Regions from separate parts of the Homo sapiens genome. Here regions 2 and 3 are each linked to region 1. The links are contacts of gene promoters, found by promoter capture Hi-C in blood cells and fetal thymus (Javierre and others, 2016). All regions are on one chromosome and are shown on one strand. The core of a region is centred on a gene start or on the middle of the fragment in contact, and the rest is flanking DNA. Distances in the headings are between cores, read along the strand shown. Region 1 holds the start of KBTBD8 (kelch repeat and BTB domain containing 8). Region 2 overlaps ATXN7 (ataxin 7). Region 3 overlaps ATXN7 (ataxin 7).

Region 1 (3,782 bases), core at 485-2,984:
CAGATAAACAACAAATGATATTTCAGTTTAAATATTTCTCAAATAATGCATGCCCTGTATTTTTATTTGCAATATCGTCAGATGTTGTCAAACCCTAAGGATTAACGCCATTTTTTTCCTCAATACTAACCATATTGTCATAAAGTGCTACCATTTTAATAAATTAGAAAGCAACATCATAAAAACGAAAAAATAAAGTTATGAGTAACCAAAATTAAGTCAATTTCATCTATCCAGAAACGTGCATACAGGACATTCACAAAGAAGAAATTATAAGTGCATATGTATATGCAGAAACCCCAGTCATGAGGAAACACCACTTCCTGTTAACTTGCATGGGATTATAGTATTTTAAGTTCTAAATTTCTCAGCAGACCTAGAAGACAGAACTGAATTGTTTTTCATAATTATTTCTCTTTCTCAATCACAATTTAAATTCCAAGATCCTTTCTTTATCAAGAAGTTCAACGGTTTGATCTTTTCAGTGCTAGAAAAGTTATGCACACGGGCTAACTATATGTCTACTAGAAATTCTTCCCATTCGCTGATACTTCCTTACATTTTAACATCTAGAAATAGCATTCCCAATGTTAGCTCATTTGCACCTTACATTTATTTTTAAAATATGAAACATCTATAATGTGCCAGGCACCCCGTTAGATGTTAGAAACACAAGATGAGTAAATAAAAATTCGTCAACAGTAAAATTTTGATTTTCTTTCCAAAAGGTTGCAGCCTATGAAATCCATGGAGTACGGATTACTATTACTTCACGTTACAGATGAAGGATCTAAGCGCTCAGGGGTTGAAAGGTCTTATGTCAGTTCTCACATATAGTGACTAAAGAGCCAGGGCTTCAGTAATCATCCCTGGCTCCGGGCTCAGGGCATTCCGGTATTTTTTCAAAGGAAATTCCGGAATACTTAGTATTGTATCCCCTCCATTTCCCAAGAGCAAAAAGTAAAGCATCTTGGATCCCCTTGTAATGTTCACGTGAGGAACAGGTGTTCTCTGGGTGTGCTAGAAAAGCAAGGCACCAGTGGGAGTTGAAGATCCTAAGCAGCCGCTGTAACCAGACCAAGTTAATCTGTGGAAACCAGAGCACCCGGCCAAGGCGATGCTATTTCAATTGGGTGTCATAGGTGACTCATCAGAGACGCCTTGCTTTTGGGCCTTGTGATATTTTTCTTCAGGGTGGGACGTCAGATTTCCTTTGCATTTTTGGACAACAGCCCTCCTGTCCATTTCCACATTTTTCTGGTTTTACAGCTCTCACGCAGAGCTTGATTTCATACCGGAAGCTAGTCACTGGCAGGAAGTTTACGGAAGAAGAAAAAGGTAAAAAAATGTGCCGGGGGCCAGGAGAGAGGCCTAAAATGGGGAAATTCGCACTTGAAGAGCTTTCCCTACCCCAGCCCCTCAGAATGACAGTTCTCCTCCGCCAGAAGACTACCTCTCCCGGCAGGCACTGCGCGCTCGACGGCCACAGGCTGGCCAGCTCCCTGCTCTCCACCTCCATCCGAATCAGCCAATAGGAATTCCCGGCTTGGGCCTCCGCCCGACCCGGACCACGCGGGAGCCGGGGCAATCAAACTACATTTCCCGACACGCATGTGCTCGCGTCGTGGCCAATCAGCGCCAGGAATTCGGAGGCTAGGGGTGGAGCCAGATGCACAGGACACCCCATTGGCCAGGGGAAGCTTAGAAGAGCCGGAACCCGGGAGCTAGAGAAGCGAAATGACATTTCCTTTTTAAATAGCTGGAGTCGGGGCCCCATCGAGAAATGGCCGCGTCGGCAGGTGGGTCGTGTGGTGGCCAGGGCGGCGTGGAGGGAGGTGAGGGGGAAGGTGGGCCGGGGCCGGCCACAGGCAGTGGGATGAGGACGTAGCGGTGCGGAGCTAGAGGGAAGGATGAAGCGGTGGAGGGGAATGAGAAGAGGGAGGATGAATGGTGCGGAGGGCGGTGGGCGGTCCGGCGGGACCGGGATGGGGAGGCTGGGTACCCGCCGGCGCTGCGCCCCAGGAGGCAGCGGGAGGCGGCTTGAGGGGGCACCGGCGGCCGCCGTTGTTCGAGCTTCCCTCGTGAGGCTCTGCCCTCGGCTCTCGGCGGAGTCCGCGCAGACGCCTCTCCTGGGCTGCGAGCGCGTTTCCTCCGCGAGCACGGGTGCCGGGCTCGCCGGGCTCCGCAGGAGCAGGCTGGCCTTTGAACTTGTTCCGCCGATCGCGCTCCGCCCTCTGTCTCCCAGATCCTTAACTCGCGGTCCCACGAGGTCGTGCGTATATCCACAGACATTTGTATATATCTTGTAGGGGGAAAAAGCCTAGCAAGCAGACACACAAACAGAAAAATCCCGCGATGCCGTAACTGGCTCGGCACTTCTTGTAGTTGTACGATTTTTCTCCTCCTAGATTTAAGTAAGTCTTCCCCAACACCGAATGGGATTCCATCTTCAGACCCAGCCAGCGATGCCATGGACCCCTTCCATGCTTGCAGTATTCTTAAGCAACTCAAAACAATGTACGATGAAGGACAGTTGACAGACATTGTAGTGGAAGTGGATCACGGGAAAACATTTTCCTGTCATAGAAACGTTCTTGCTGCAATCAGCCCTTACTTCAGGTATGATGATGGTAGGAACTTCTGTTGGTATCTGCACCAAGCTCCCTTTCCCCCTCAGTATTGTCCACTTGATGTTTATATTGAGATGCGATAATGAAATGAAACCAATGACTTTGTTTCTTGAGACTAGAAAACAAGTCCTCTCTTAACTAAGACCTTCTTTTGACTTGAGGGATTCTTCTAGATTTCGGGTGATTGCTTTTTAAGTTAGTGGGCCTGTGTGTGTGTGTTTGAGGTAAATGACCAGAAAATCTAGACTTGTGCTGGTCAGTATGGAAGCCAGTAGCCATGTGTGGCTGTTTAAACTTAAATTATAAGTTAAATAAAATAAAACATTTAGTTCCCCAGGTACACTAAATACTTTTTGAGTGCTTGCTGGTCACCTGCAGCTAGTGGCTGCCATATTGGGCAGCACAGAAATACAGCATTTTCATCATTGACAATTTTATTGGACAGTGCTGATCTAGAATTTCTTTCAAAAAGTTATCCATAATGCATGTTTCTTTAGTGTATGGGACTCTTTTATAAAATAGTTTAAAACATGTAGCATGTTCCTTCAAAAACAAATTACCACTCAATAGATTGTTTAAATGCTATGGGGGTCAAAGCAAGAATGAATATAGTTTCTTTGTGCCTAAGGCCCCAAATTAATAATATCCAAGATTTCTAGAAGTATGTTAAACGAAGTTTTTGTTTTTACTTATATTGTCTACTATAAAACTTTTAAAAGTAAAATTTAAAAACTTGGGTCTGAAAAATAACTTCCTACTTTAAGATGAGTGGAAAAGGCAGTTTTCTGCATGGGCTTAACTTCTTTTGTGTCAAATGCTCACTTTAAGCCTTTCAGTATTCACAAGTGGTGCATAAATAATAGTAAAGTTATCAACCACACTCTGAATGTGATTTTTCCTTTTGAAGGTGCTTACCTTTATAGGGCACATAACCATATAATGTTCCAACAGTAGTTTCTGGTTCCTCTTTCTCAGAATACTGGGTTAAATATAGTCACTTCAGTCTGATGCTTGTGATGTAACCGTTTAGACTTGCCTAGGGTAGGTCATTGGACTACTAAGTATTAATCATCGCAAGACAGTGAGCTGGAAAGAAAAAAAAACTCACATATGCAGAAGGTATGAAGTTTGGCCTGGTAATGGAAACTTCTA
Region 2 (3,782 bases), core at 1-2,500, 3.1 Mb before region 1:
GATTTTTACTTTTGGGGTGAATGAATCACTTCCAGAAACTTGGGGTGGTGCCTCTAAAATATGTACACGGGTTAAAGCTTCTCTCGGTTTGTTTCACTCTCCTCCATTCCCTCGCACACTGATCTCATGTTCTCTCTTTGCTGGACGAATTCAAGTTCCCCAGGCGCACAGTGTGACTTCCAATTGCGGGTCGGGGGCACACATGTGGGCGGCGTGGCGTGCACACGGTACTTCGTCCTGACACCTGGGCAGACACCTGGGAGGCACTTCCCCGCTAGCCCAAGGTTCCCTGCACGCCCGGAGTCCGCTCTGCGGCGGCTTCCCATTCATGCTTTTGACAACTCTGCGGCCGCCCGCAAGCCGAGGGCAAAGTGCCCCCTGCACCAGCCTCTCCCGCGCTGCCCTGGGGCCGGCCGGCCGGCTCCTCCATAGGTGGCTGCATTTCCGACTTCGCCCTGGCTCCAGTCCGGGGGCTTGACGTGCAAACTTCGCCGGAGCGAGCTGAGAGGGAGGGACCGGCAAGTGGGAGGAGGCGGCGGGAGGCGTCTCCGCTTAAGGGAGCCGGCCGGGTGCCGCCGCTCGGACGGACGCGCGGACGGAAGGAAGGAGCGGGGCAGCCGGGCCGGGCCCGGGGATGCAAGCGGCCGAAGGGTGGGCAGCTGGAGGTCCTGGGGTGCGGCTCGGGCTTCCCCGCGCGGGCTGCCATGGTGGGGCGCGGGGTTGGAGCCGGGCCGCTCCGGCGCTGGCCTCCGCGCCAGGTCCTCTGAGCAGAAGCAGGCAGGGGACCCAGCGCCGCGGTGGCGGGCCGCCTGCTGCCCGTCCCCTCCCTCGGGCGGCCGCGGGAGTCGAAAGCGAAAGCTAGCCCGCGCCGCGGACTTTGAGCCCGGGGCGGGGGGTGGCCTTGAGGAGGCGGGCTCGGGGGGCTGGGCGGCCATGGGGGCGCTGTCAGCGTGCCCCACCCGGTCCGCGGGCCGCGCACGCCGCCGGAACTCCCTGGCGCCTCCTTAAAAAACGGCCCCCGCGCGACTCTTTCCCCCTTTTTTTTGTTACATTGTAGGAGCGGAAAGAATGTCGGAGCGGGCCGCGGATGACGTCAGGGGGGAGCCGCGCCGCGCGGCGGCGGCGGCGGGCGGAGCAGCGGCCGCGGCCGCCCGGCAGCAGCAGCAGCAGCAGCAGCAGCAGCAGCCGCCGCCTCCGCAGCCCCAGCGGCAGCAGCACCCGCCACCGCCGCCACGGCGCACACGGCCGGAGGACGGCGGGCCCGGCGCCGCCTCCACCTCGGCCGCCGCAATGGCGACGGTCGGGGAGCGCAGGCCTCTGCCCAGTCCTGAAGTGATGCTGGGACAGTCGTGGAATCTGTGGGTTGAGGCTTCCAAACTTCCTGGGAAGGACGGTGAGTGTCCACGCCCTCCTCCCCCCTTCACCCCCTCGCGACCCCCTCCTCTCTCCTCCCCTCCCCCCTGCCCCCCTCCTGTGACCCGCCCCCTCGAGGGGCAGAGATGCTATCGTTTGCTGGGTTGCGGAACGCGGAGGTGCCCACACCTACCCCGTGCGTGCGTGAGTGTGCGTCACACTCCTGGCCACTGACCTGCCTCTCCCCTCCTCCTGTGTGTGTATATCTCCTAGGGACAGAATTGGACGAAAGTTTCAAGGAGTTTGGGAAAAACCGCGAAGTCATGGGGCTCTGTCGGGAAGGTGAGTCCAGCCCCCCTGATGGAGTTTGTACAAACCCCTGGGAAGTTTCATTGACAGTTCACTGGGACCGGGAACATCAGCCCACCATACCGACTCCCCGACTCCCCGTGCCTGCGAAGATGCTGCCTGAGGAGGGAGGGAGGGGGCAGAGCGCTTGGAAAGTTTGGTTTGGGGGCCTCCTGTAATGAGAGCGTCCGGAATCCTTCTGTGACCAGGCAGGAGCAGCATTATTGGTGATGAGCGCTGGGAACCGGCGGGAAGTTTAACCTAGATCTCTGCATTTCTGACCTCCTTACGGAGAAACAGGAGTAGAGGAAGGAATTCTCAGCTTTGAAACCTTTCCACGAATGCTTAGGGGACATTTTCTGTTGGCAATCGAAACGAATTTTGAACTTAAAGAAGATGCTTTACCTATGCAGTCTTATTTCTGTAGGATTTAAGGTACAAGTTGGGGATGTTAGAAAAAGGTCATCATAACCCGGAGTGCATTTTGGTCAGATTTTTTGCGAGCTGCCAATATCACGGGGGAAAGAAAGCCAGAATTTTATTTGGTCAAATAAGCCTTTACTGCCCGTGGCTGGTGAAATCAGGGTCTAATTATTTGTTAGTTTTAAACTGTTTGGTAAAAAGATACACTAGGGAAATAGGGTATGCCTCCAAATGAAAGTCAGGCCAGGTATCTGGAAAGTGTCAGACTTTTTCTTGAGATTTTCTTTTTCTTTGAATAGTAAGCTTTTGTTGTCTAATACCTGCACTAGGCCTGGGCATACCGTGGTCAGAAAGGACTTCTGAAGTCCAGTGAACTTCGGGTTCAGTTTCAAGTTATTCTTTCAGTGAGTTAGGACAAGGCTTTGAGTGAGGTTTGGCCCCGGAATACTGAGTTTATAGTCCCCGAATGCAATTTTATTTCTCACTCGTAGCCATTTATTTTGCAGAATTGTTGTCTATGGCCCAAGGATAGGTAGAACTTTGGCAACTGGAACATTTTTAAGTCCAAAGTTTGCCCATTGTTACTGTCTTCACATTTCCTTCTCGCTTTTCACACCTGCTTTTTCTTCACTTAACTCTGTTTCGGTTTTTTTGAATTGGGCGCTTTTTGGCCTCTTGGCACTCGGAGGAAGAGTAATACCAGTGACAGCCCGATGAGAGCTTCCAATTGGAACAGATTATAGAACAAATTAGTTGATTTTTAAAATGAGAATTGCTATTTGAGGGTAAAGGAAAGCAAGGGAAAGCACAGGACTTGTTGATGATGTTGCAATATGAAAAATCAGTTGCTAGTCCGGTTTTAGTGCTGAATTGGCAGCCTGCCTGGGCTTAAAAAATTAAAATCACTAGGTGGCAACTCTCACAGTAAGCAGTTAGAGTAGAACTTTAGAGGACCTGACCTACTCTTGTTCTTAGTTTTCATTCTCTGGGTGTGGATACATATCCTATAAAACGTTTCTAAATCTGTGTGAAAACAAGATTGTAATTATCAATAATTCTGCTGTAAAGGATGAGTTAAGTGTATTAATGTTTCAGTGGGTACCTTGAGCTGGACAGGGACCCAACCAAATTAAGGGGACTGTACCTCATTTTTGCTAGATATATTATTTTCTGTTGGGATACTTTTATCAGCATGTTTTTCATGAAGAACTAAGACGTTAAACTACCTACTTGAGGCACAAAAGGGACATGGATCTTGTTAGTGTTTTGTTTTGTTTTTTGAGACGGAGTCTCACTCTGTGGCCATGCTGGAGTGCAGTGGTGCGATCTTGGCTCAGTGCAACCTCCACCTCCTCAGTGCAACCTCCACCTCCCAGGTTCAAGCGATTCTCCTGCCTCAGCCTCCCGAGTAGCTGGGACTGCAGGCGGCGGGCCACCACACCCAGCTAATTTTTTGTGTTTTAGTAGAGAGGAGGTTTCACCACGTTGGCCACGATGGTCTCAATCTCCTAACCTCGTGACCCACCTGCCTCGGCCTCCCAAAGTGCTGGGATTACAGGTGTGAGCCACCGCCTGGCCCTTGTTAGTGTTTTTTAAGGGTTCCCCTCCTCCCCCTTTTAAAGTTGTTCTAACCATTTAGAGGATGCTGTAGCTACCAG
Region 3 (3,782 bases), core at 514-3,013, 3.0 Mb before region 1:
TATTAAGATGTTATTTTAGTCTGTAGTATTTTTTTAGTCTGTAGTCTTAATTTTTTTCTTAGGGAAAAAGAAATATGACCATGTCCCCAGACCTAGACAATTAACGTCTGAGCCATCATTGGGATATTTAATATCAAAATAAACTTTATTTGGATAGGATATCGAGAAACGGTTTGAAGAAAATTGTGATAATGCTTTACAAGCAGAACAAAGCAGTATTTGCTTAAACATTTTATTCAGGGCATTAAGGGGGCACATGTGAGTGTTTAAAATTTTAATCTGAGCTTTGTTCTCAATTTCTGTGTATGTGTACAAAATTAATATTTTCCTGGCATACACGACCATTCATCCCTTTTCTGATGTAGGTCTTAAAAATAAGTTAAAATTCGTTTTTCTCTTGTTTATTTGTGAACTTAAATATAGACGTTTGTTTGTAGCATTTAAGAACATTTGCTAAAATTCACCCTGGTTTTTTACAGGGTTGCAGAACGACTTGATTCTTAGAACTGTCTTGGATTGGCTGACTCTCATAACGATATTTTTCCCCACTGTATTTCGTACAATCACTGTGTACGAAAGGGAATATTAGAAAGGCAAGCATTTGTGCTAGGAAGGCCAGCAAGGACTCTGGTGTTCTGTCATACAAGTACAGTGATAGGGAAGTGAGATTTAGCTCCAGAAAGATCCTCCTACCCTGTTCTTTTCTGCTATTGATGGCATTAAGGAGATTCCTTGGCTACCCCTGCAGGGAGGGCAGGTGAAGTAGGGTGAACAATACTAAGACCTGTGGCAATCAGGTTTTACAGCCATGGAATTTTTTTTTTCTAGCTTAAGAAAAGCTTCAGTGAATTAACTTAAAATTCTTATTTTCGCTTATGAGCTTTTAAAAAGATTTGGGAGATGTATCCTCATCCTGTGCTTCTAAGGCTTGCTGATGGCTCTTCCCTTGCGTTCTTCTAGTGTCTTCTAAGGGCTTCCATAGTTTTGGATTGTATGAACGTTACTGTAAGGAATCTGGGGGAAAAAAAGTGGGTTTCAGAAAACCCCCTGGGTCTTAGTATTGTTGACATGGGTTGGGATCTGAATCCTTGTGAAAATAGGGCAGTGCAGCTACTGTTCTTCTGTTTTAGAGTCAATTTAGAATTTGGTCTAATAGAAGCCGTTTTCATGCCTCTCTCAGAACTCTTCCCCGCACCTTTCAGGCTAAATCATTTCCACATATGTAATTCATGACTTTTGCCAAATATTCTGTATGGGGTGATAGGATTCTGTAGAAGAATCTTTTGCTGCTTCTTTTGACATTTAAAAGAGTTCATTTTGAACTATCAGGTATCTAAGTCATTATTATCATAAAACTCAGATCACTTGGCAGTTTTTTCCATGTCACTTGTGGGGATTTTTTGTTGTTGTTTTGTTTTTATTAGAACTCTGTCACCTGGGCTGGAGTGCGGTGGCACAGTCATAGCTTACTGCAGCCTCAAACTCCTGGACTCTTGCCTCACCCTCCCAGGTAGTTGGGATTACAGGTGTGAGCCATTACACCCCATTCTGTGTCATTTGACAGTAGATTTGTTGATTGGCCAGAGAGAGGGAGTGTGATAGGGATGATAGGGAAACAGGCCAGGAAGACACTGTTTTCAAGGGGGCACTCAGTGAGAGAAATTCTTGGATTTAAAAGTATGAAAGCTTTAGTCAGTCCTCTAGTGATTGAACAACAAACTGGACAAATGTGGATATGAAATTATACATATTTTACAAATATGCACAGAAAGTGGGTTCAGATATTTTGTTACTAGATTTAGGAAGGAAAAGTATGCTTAGGAATAATAAACTTTTTTTGAAAAGCTTAGCAACTGTAGATAGTATAGGGGAAATAAAACCTGGAAAAATGCTGCAGGTATTTTATAGAAATGTTTAACTTTAAGACCTTTAGGTCTACCGAGACTTAAAATGTAGGTTTTTAAATAAATCATGTAAGTTTTGTAATATACCTGGTAGTAGCTTTGTCAGTTTAAAGGTATTCAGAAAAAAAATTCACAAAATATAAGTAATTTGCATTTTAGCAGGTTAAACTTATAAATTCCATCTTCCCCAGTTTTGACAAGTTGCCTTTCCAATAGAAAGATTAATTTACACCAGCCAGGACGCCTTGTATGACCATATTAGATGAAATTAGACTCCACCCCCTGTTTTCTGTTGATCTGCCAGGACCTTTGTAATTCAAGTGCTTTTTACAGTAGTAGCAAATGTTACATAAGCCCAAACATGGAGCATATTTGGAGTTGGTGGGCAGACCCAAATCATGATGCAAGCCTGCAGTAGCAAGTGTGCAATGAAGCACAACCAAATTCTGTGAATGGAAGGTAGCAAGACGCCTCTCCAAAGCAGCCCTTCTGCGCAGGAGCTGAAAGCTCCACTGGGTAAGTTTTCTGAGGCAGTTTTCAGAGTCTGGGCTTGGCTCAGGGCCCAGCTCTGGATGAGCCTGTGGACGGTGGGGTAGGTCTTTGCTAACCTTACATAGAACCAAGCAGATTTGGGAAGAGTTTATGCAGGCCTTTTTCCTCCTGGCATTTGTCTTGCCTTGCCAGCAGGCCAGGAGGGTTCTGCTGCTCAAGTAGTGGAGGGAGGGAGCCTGCAGAGCTAGGGGATCAGCGTGGGTAATCGCAGCCACAGGGATTAGCTGCTGCAAGCTGTCCACAGAAGCCATTCTGAAATGTCATTTGAGTGATCTGGCCAAAGTTCAGATGCAGACGGGAGCCGAGTTTGTTATTAACTCCAACAAAATGCTGAGGTTTGCACCAAACAGTTCCCATATCTCAAAACAGAGAGAGTATTGGTTACATCTCTCTCTAAAAATGGAGGAACGTTGTAACACGCTTTAACTGTTTGTTTTTTATCTTACTTGTGGTAAGTGAGGTTTCATGACAGGCAGTTTGCAGTGTTTCCTGTAGAATGTGTTTGAAAGCTGTTTTGTCAGATACTTCAATTCCACAGCAAAGTTTCAAACAGAACACTGCGTCAAGAGGAAGAACAACTTCAAAATACAAACAGTAACCCTGGGAAGTCATTCAGTAACTTAAATTGAGTGTATAAAAATTTAATTATGGACTGACTGCCAGAAAAGATGATTTTTTTTAGTTGTGTTATTAAGGTAGCCAGCAGAGCTAAGCTGATTCTTGGGTGGATGTGTGGAGGCTGGTCTCAATATTACCTTACCTGTCTCAGACCTTCTGTCTTCATGCGGGAAGTGAGGTGTCAATTGAGTTCTTCAGTTTTCAGGGGATTCAGATTTCATGCCTTGTGTAATAATGAGCTTGACCGGAAGGTTTTAATTGAGGTTGAAATTGAGCTCCCCAGTTGTAGGACTTTAAATATGAAAAGATCTTAAACCTTTAATCAAATTGCTGTTGATTCTCTATAATTGATTTTTCTGAAAACTCTTGTCAGACAGTTTTAGGTTCACTGTTTCTGCTTTCGTTTTTGCATGTCACTTCTGATGTTTTATTAGTTGACAGCCCTGGCATGCAGGTGGAGCAGATACTGTTTCTCTCTTCAGAAAAAATAAATGTGTGTTGCAGACTCATTGAAAACATTGGCATTCCTGGGTAATTAATCACTCATTCCTTATTAAAAGAATGTATAATGAAGGAATCTGTAAGGCTGTGTTCAAAATGTGAGGTTTTTCTTATTTCCATGTTCTGGTCTTCAGGTATTCTGCCCTCCCCCACCCAGAATAAGGTGATATAAAAAGGATATAAAACCAGTGGAAAATGGCAATAAGG

Evidence for each region. The method cuts DNA at HindIII sites, captures the fragments that hold promoters and counts their contacts. A CHiCAGO score of 5 or more calls a contact.
Region 2: a fragment that was not itself captured here is called in contact with the fragment with the promoter of KBTBD8 in region 1 in 2 of 17 cell types (fetal thymus and total B cells); the score reaches 11.1 in fetal thymus.
Region 3: a contact is called between a fragment that was not itself captured here and the fragment with the promoter of KBTBD8 in region 1, in 1 of 17 cell types (fetal thymus). The highest score is 8.5, in fetal thymus.

Annotation. Positions count from the first base shown.
Region 1 is chr3:66,996,573-67,000,354 of GRCh38, forward strand. KBTBD8 (kelch repeat and BTB domain containing 8) reads left to right here and starts at 1,735. Exons shown (of 4, transcript NM_032505.3): 1 at 1,735-1,799; 2 at 2,409-2,619. The coding sequence starts at 1,784. RefSeq lists enhancers at 1,393-1,492, 3,456-3,555 and a silencer at 1,833-2,152. The HindIII fragment of the contact is 2,180 bases long and covers 1,699-3,782 here.
Region 2 is chr3:63,911,531-63,915,312 of GRCh38, forward strand. It overlaps ATXN7 (ataxin 7), which reads left to right. Exons shown (of 13, transcript NM_001377405.1): 3 at 1,058-1,393; 4 at 1,627-1,695. The coding sequence starts at 1,069. It also overlaps SCAANT1. Among named protein-coding and RNA genes, the nearest start is that of ATXN7, 50 kb to the left of the region's middle. RefSeq lists an enhancer at 122-201 and a silencer at 532-1,371. The HindIII fragment of the contact is 2,350 bases long and covers 76-2,425 here.
Region 3 is chr3:63,965,556-63,969,337 of GRCh38, forward strand. The region is part of intron 5 of ATXN7 (ataxin 7); the gene reads left to right. Among named protein-coding and RNA genes, the nearest start is that of PSMD6-AS2, 37 kb to the right of the region's middle. RefSeq lists enhancers at 2,758-2,977, 3,418-3,497, 3,508-3,567. The HindIII fragment of the contact is 159 bases long and covers 1,685-1,843 here.